Regions from separate parts of the Homo sapiens genome. Here region 2 is linked to region 1. Evidence: promoter capture Hi-C in 16 types of primary human blood cells and fetal thymus (Javierre and others, 2016). All regions are on one chromosome and are shown on one strand. Each heading gives the region's core, a stretch centred on a gene start or on the middle of the fragment in contact. The rest is flanking DNA. Distances are from core to core; before and after follow the strand shown. Region 1 holds the start of PPFIA2 (PPFI scaffold protein A2). Region 2 has its middle 160 kb from the start of LINC02426.

What was found. Contacts are between HindIII fragments. The CHiCAGO score rates a contact against its expected background, and 5 or more counts as called.
Region 2: a fragment that was not itself captured here is called in contact with the fragment with the promoter of PPFIA2 in region 1 in 1 of 17 cell types (neutrophils); the score reaches 6.3 in neutrophils.

Annotation. Positions count from the first base shown.
Region 1 is chr12:81,757,598-81,761,168 of GRCh38, forward strand. PPFIA2 (PPFI scaffold protein A2) reads right to left here and starts at 1,753. Exons shown (of 33, transcript NM_003625.5): 1 at 1,683-1,753; 2 at 803-910. RefSeq lists an enhancer at 613-1,551. The HindIII fragment of the contact is 5,625 bases long and covers 1,313-3,571 here.
Region 2 is chr12:82,112,768-82,116,338 of GRCh38, forward strand. No RefSeq gene overlaps it. Among named protein-coding and RNA genes, the nearest start is that of LINC02426, 160 kb to the left of the region's middle. The HindIII fragment of the contact is 9,705 bases long and covers 1-3,571 here.

The sequences.
Region 1 (3,571 bases), core at 503-3,002:
TAACTCCTTTATTCTTAGCACATAGCCTTGACTGTCTTTTAAATTTCTCAGATTTCAAAATAAAAGTTTGAATGCCCACTGGAGTCCTCACTCAAGGGCTTTCAAGATCCAATGTGTTCCTTAACAATATATGCCATCCAAGCAGTACCTCTTCAGATATGAGAGTGCTACAAAAAGCTTTTTTTCTTTTTTCTGTCAACAAATGACTTTATTTAATCATATCACTAGGAATTCGGCCCTACTAGAGGTAAGAATGTAATTATTATCCATAGTGAGTTTCTTCTGAAAACATTTAGTCTTAAGAACCATCCCAGCTCCACCTCAGTTAACCTACAAGGAGTAATTCAGTGAGAGAAATCCTAGCCATTGTCTGATTACATTACATGAATATTCTCCCTCCTATTTAACTCTTTGAAAGCCTCTGTCCTCGGGAAATATGATTATCACCTTTAATGGACACATTTTACACTTTCTTTACCCTAGTGCATTTACGGACAGCCAGAGCCAGCTCAACCCACACTACTGGACAGTTATCTCTCAGCCACACCCCCCACCACCTTGAAGAAGTTGACTTCATCATTTCCACACTAAAATTGTTCATCCTGCCCAACAGGACACAGCCAAGTAGGCAGGAGGTAGAGAGATAGGAGATGGAGAGGATGAGGTGAAAGCAAAAGGCACCTAACGGTAATCAACAAGGAGGAATTTGCATCTCATCTTCCCTGGGGGCGGGGTGGGGCCGGGGAGGTGGTCAAAAAATACAGCGAAAGGAGACAGTAAAACTCAAAGACAGCTTCTGTACCTAATGTCTGTGATTTCGGGTCCTTGCTTCTTCAATTGATCAATGACAACCGCAGTCTCCGGCTTGAGGAGAAGGGAGGCTCACACCCAGCACTCCTGGACCATTTCCCTAGCAACGGGAGGAGAAAGGCAGCTCAGACACACGCGTGCCCCGGCGCCCTCCCGGAACGTGCCCCGGCCCGGTGGCGTGGCAGGAGCTCGGCATCTTCCCGTGGCTCCGTCAGCAGCCAAAAGGAGAAGCGTCCATCGGAAAAATGGCATATTACAAATTTTGCTTTGGGAAGCAAAGCTCGGTTCAGACCATTGTCAAAGGAGGAGAGGGGGAGGCGGCTCTTAAAGCAGCCGCGGCCCCTTTGCCAGAACAGCCGCAGCTCCCCGCGTGCAGCTGGAGCCCCGGGGCGGAGACCGGAGACCGGGGACTGGGTTTGACTTTCAGAAACTTAACCACGCGGCGCCGCTCCCCCTCCGCGCCCGGGCCACCCGGGGTGTGTGGGGCGTCCCTCCAAAAGAAAGCTTGGAGAAAAGGCGTGAGAAGTATCTGGGAGAGAAGTTCTCCACCCAGTCTCCCCTCCTGGAGCCCCTCTGGAGTTTAAGGCTAACCCTGGGAGTTAGAAACCTAAAGGAAAACGAGTCCCTAGGGATGCAAAAAGCAGGACAGGTCTCCTCCTGGCCCCCAGCCTGTTTCCGCGCGCTCCCGTGTCTCGTTTCACTTAAAGGAGGCGCTTTTTCTCTGGAAAGGCAAACATCACCCCACGCCGTCCCCCGGCCCCCCTTCCCTCCCCCCCGCCGCCCCCCCGCCGCCACAGCACACACACCCATTTTTCTCCTCCCGGCCTTTCTGCAAGCCTCTTTGCTTGCTTCAATTGGCCGGAAGAACCAACCTGCTGGCAGCCGGTGAGGACGCTACAGCATCTTCTCTCCTCACTTGCCTCGTGCGGTGGCTGCTACTCCTCCTCCTCCGTCTCCTCCCCTCCTCCTCCTTGGCAGCCACCACCTCCTCTTCCTCTGGAACAAGGGCTTCCCCTGGAAGCTGCTGCAGTGGTTTCCACCGGCCCTTAAATAAATTCTGAAGTAATCACGTCTTTGCTCTCCTCCTCACGCACACGCGCCCGCGGATACACTCGTCTCCCCCAGAGCCGCTCCCGGGCTGCCGAGGCTCGCTCTGCTCCCAGTGCCCCCTGCGAAGGCGAGGGCCAGGGATGGGCAAAGTGGGAAGGGGGCACACGCTTCCCCGCCTGGGCTTCTTTCACACAATGGGCTCTACAGCCTTCGCTTGTGTCAGCCTGCGCTGGTGGGGATGGGAACGGACTTGGGCACCTTTTGGCTCCCCGGTCTTCTGTGCTTGTCATTTCTTTAAGCAGCTTTCTTCCCACTGGGCCAGGGCATGGTAGTCATGGTTGTAGGGACCTGAGCCAATCTAGGGTGTGGCGGCATCTGTCATTTCTCATTACCTCTTCAGTTCTTCTTCATTCATATTGTTTTGGTAATGGGAATTGTATGTTAAGTATTCCCTGCCCGAGTAAATTTTAGCTTTGAGCAGAGTCTGGTCTCTCCATCGCGCTCCAGTCCCCCTTATATCTCCACCTCCCTTTACCTACCCTCTTTTCTTTCCGTTGCTGCTGTCCATTCATACAGACTGAGGAAGCAGGAGACAAAATCAGTACCTACTCTGAGCAGAAAGGGAACGTTTCTGTGAGGGAGAGTCACGAATCCTGCTGGGTTTGGTGAAAATGAAGAGGACATGCATGAAGGAATTGGAGGATTAAACACTGAATATATTTTGGGGGTTACTGAAAATATTCTGAGTGTGCTACACGAAAGCCAAAAGACGTGTTTTACTTTTGTGTAACGCCAAGAGTCCAAAGTTAACAAAGAACTAGTATGTAAATAACTGTTCACTTAAAATTAACTACAATATCCAAGAAACAATCTTTGTTTCTGAGGGAAGTATTTAATTCAGTTAGCGACTTTACAATGGAAAGTGGGGTAAAGCTCATGTATTTACCCAACTTCTATTCTAGACTGTTATTTAAATTTTACAACACAACACAATCCTATAAGAAGTATAAAAATAATACGAAAATTCATTAGATGTCAACTGGAGCACTATTTCTCAGACATAATGTGCATACAGATCATCCATGGATCTTGTTAAGTTGTAGATACTGATTCACCAGGAATGGGGTGAAACCTGAAATTCTACCCTTCTAATGACTCCCAGATGGTACTACACTTGAGGAGGAAGGGTCTAGACCACCCAATCGACCCACAATTTGATGTGGCTTAAATACCCCTAACTACAGGAAACTCTTCACCTCACAGGATAGCCTAGTCTATTTTCAGACAAACTTCATATTGTAATAGCTTCAACATACTAATCATATATCAGTACTCATAACTTTCACTCTCTAGAATTCTACACAAAACATAAAAATTCCTTATACATGAGAGATATTCTTATTTTTACATATAGCTATTATGTCTATTTTTACAAGAATTCCTTCCTTATTAAACCTTGGTTTGAATTTCCTTGGCAATCAACGTTTGTTAATTACTGGCTCAGATGTTCCTACTGTTTCCAAGAAGAGTTTTGATTTCCTTGAGTCCCATTCGTATGTCAAATACAAGTTTTAATTGTAAGTATAATCCCCACATACAGTTGACACAGCATAGTTAAAGGCTAACCCATGGTAGGTATCGCAGAAAGAAAAACTTTGATAATGGGAGGCAGAAAAAAATATCACGAGTTAAAGGATATTTTGTTAAGAAG
Region 2 (3,571 bases), core at 445-2,944, 360 kb after region 1:
GCACCACCCTGCTCAGTCGGCAGCCAGTAACATGGAGGCAAGACTCTCCACTAGCAAAAGGGTTGCAACACGATGAAGGTTCAGGTGATTGTTAGCATTTTTTTTTTTAGCAATAGTGTATTTTTAAACTAAGGTATGTACACTTTTTAGACATTTCCTATCACACACTTAATGAACTACAGTACACAGTGTAAACATAACTTTTACGTGTACTGGAAAACCAAAAACTTTGGTTTTTTATGCTTTGTTTTGTTCAGGTGGTCTGGAACCAAACCGAAAACATCTCTTTGGTATGCTTGTATTTACATATATATATATATATATATATATATATATATATATATATATATATATACACACACACACACACACACACACACACACACTAAATACATGTACACATATTTATATATTTTATATACATATCAATTTTTCCATAAAATAAATATAACTGATAGATATGTTATAAATATATGTATGCATATGTAATACTAGTAACAATAGTTAACGTTTATTTAATGCTTACCCAATGCCCTAGGTTCTATTTTAAGCTAGTTACATGCATAATTTCATTAACTTTCCCAATAACTTTGTAAGTTATATAGTATTATTATATCAATACCACATACTAAGTAATTGCTTACATTCACATAGCTCATATGTAGTGAAACCAGGATTTGAACTTAACAAAAGAGAGAAAACAGGTAAGTTTAACAAACAATGGTCAAAAGAAAAAAAAAAAAAACAGAAAAAAATTGGTGTAAATAAGCTATTCACCATCAAAATATATATTTAAAATTTTTTAAAAATTGCAAAATGAGACATAAGGAAAAGATTTTTATATGTGTTCTTAAGAATCAGCCATAGATGTCACCTTGTAATTAATTCATAATGGTAAACTCGGTGGTTAGATCTAATAACTGTTGTGTTTCCCATTTCAGCACAAATGCAAGTGTTGAATATTAAATCAAAGGAAAACATTATCCGGCTAAATACCATGCCTTCTATTTTTAGCATGTAAACAGATTTCTTCTGCATAATGTTAAAATGAACACAAGTTTCTTGCTTCTCTTATTTGAAGAACATAATTTTAGACAGTCTGATTTCCTTTTTTACCATTGTATGAAAAAATAAATTAATTGTTTGAAAAGCTCCTCTTCAGTGGAGTTCTCAAAATACATAAACACACGCATACACACACATTGCCATTATGAAGGAGTGTATAATATTGAAAATCTATTTGCATTTATATTATAGGGAAAGGCTAACAATAAAATAAAGTATATCATTCATGAAAATTTCTAAAACACTGATGATGTAGATAGCACTCAAGTAGTTATACAAGTAGTAAAATCCATTGGTTAGTTATTTAAGTATGCTACACACATTTTATGAGGCTTAATGATATGAAATACGCTTAAAATTTGAATTTACATGTATTACTTAGCAATTGATTTCTTAAAATGTTAAGAAAATCAAAGAAAGATTTAAAGAACACCAATATTTATTTTAAACTAAAAATGGACAGATTTTCAAACAATTTGTTACCATGAAACAGTATATCAGCTAGAATTAATTTTACTGTGTATGTTAGAAAATTCAAAATAAAAGTGCCTTTTTAAAAGACACAGAGAGCACACTAACCATAAAGGAAAATTGGTAAATTGAACACTAACAACATTTTAAAACTTCTGCTTATTAAAATCCATTAAGAGAATAAGCAGAGGAATTACAGACTGGGGGAAAATTTTTTAATACCTTTATTTGACATATTACTCACATCCAGAATATAGATATATATTTTTTGACCATTTAAAAATTGAATTGTCTGTCTTTAAAAAATATTAAGAACAAAATTCTAATTTTTTAAATGGGCAAAAAATATGAGCAGACACTTCAGACAAGAACATACACAAAAGGCCAATACACATGGAAAGTGTTCAACATTATTAGATATAAGTTATATGTAAATCAAAACCACTAAAGATACCAGTATACTTCCACTAATGCAGTTAAAATTAAAGGTATTAACAATATCAAATGTTGGAAAGCCACCAGAACCCCCCCAACATTGCTGGTGAAATGAAAAATAGGGCTGGGCGCGGTGGCCACGCCTGTTTAATTCCAGCACTTTGGGAGGCCGAGGCGGGCGGATCACGAGGTCAGGAGATCGAGACCATCCCGGCTAAAACGGTGAAACCCCGTCTCTACTAAAAATACAAAAAATTAGCCGGGCGTAGTGGCGGGCGCCTGTAGCCCCAGCTACTCGGGAGGCTGAGGCAGGAGAATGGCGTGAACCCGGGAGGCGGAGCTTGCAGTGAGCCGAGATATCGCCACGGCCCTCCAGCCTGGGCGACAGAGCGAGACTCTGTCTCAAAAAATAAATGAATAAATAAATAAATAAATACAAAAAAAAGAAAATGAAAAATAGTACCACTTTGGAAAACTGCTTGGCAGTCTCTTTAAGACTTAAAGATTGGCCTGAAGTTTTTTGTTGTTGTTGTACCTCCGCCAGGTTTTAGTATCAGAATGATGCTGGCCTCATAAAATGAGTTCGGTAGGAGTCCATCCTTTTCCATTTTTGGAATAGTTTCAGTAGAAATGGTACCAGCTCTTCTTTGTACCTCTGGTAAAATTCAGCTGTAAATCTGTCTGGTGCTGGGCTTTTTTTGACTGGAAGGCTATTTATTACTGCCTCAATTTCAGAACTCATTATTGGTGTATTCAGGAATTTAGTTTCTTCCTGGTTCAGTCTTGGGAGGATGTTTTGTGTCCAGGAAATTATCCATTTCTTCCAGATTTTCTAGTTTATGTGCATAGAGGTGTTTACAGTAATCTCTGATGGTTGTTTGTATTTCTGTGGGGTCAGTGGTAATATCCTTCTTATCATTTCTGATTGTGTCTGTTTGATCAGAAATCAGTAAGCCAGATGGGGAAAATCACTGGGAAGGGACAAGAGGAAACGTTCTTGGTTGATGGAAATGCTCTGTATCTTGATAGTGGTATAGGTTACCTGAGTGTATAAATGTGTCAAAACTGATCACACTGTACACATAGGATCACTGAATTTCATTGCATATACATTATATCTTAATATACAAAAAATTAAACAGATTTCTCTTCCCTCCCTTTCTTATATAACAGGATTCAAAGAAAACATAATGCAGAAATTTGCTTTCTCCAGGAAGCCGATTCTAAGACAGAGTTTAGTGTACAAAGTGTTTATTTGGGATCTACACCGGTGGAAGGGAAAAGGAAGAAGCAGAATTGAACAACAGGAGAATCTGAATGTAGTGCAGGCTCAACAGTATCATCTGACCCCACAGGGACCTCTCACGCTGAAATGTCCTATCAGTATTGTCCCCCATTGAGTCTAAGTAGTCAAACTTTTGTATCTCTACTCCAGTAAGCCATGGGATGTGGGATACTCCCAGAGAAGTGTGGCCTTAGATGAGCTGACTCTATAACTGAAGCAGTCTCTAAAAGGGCCAACAGCTGACCGCATCTACTGACAGCATTCTCAGCACCTGGGACAAGAAGTCCTTTATTAAAGAGGGATCTGGAAGGCACA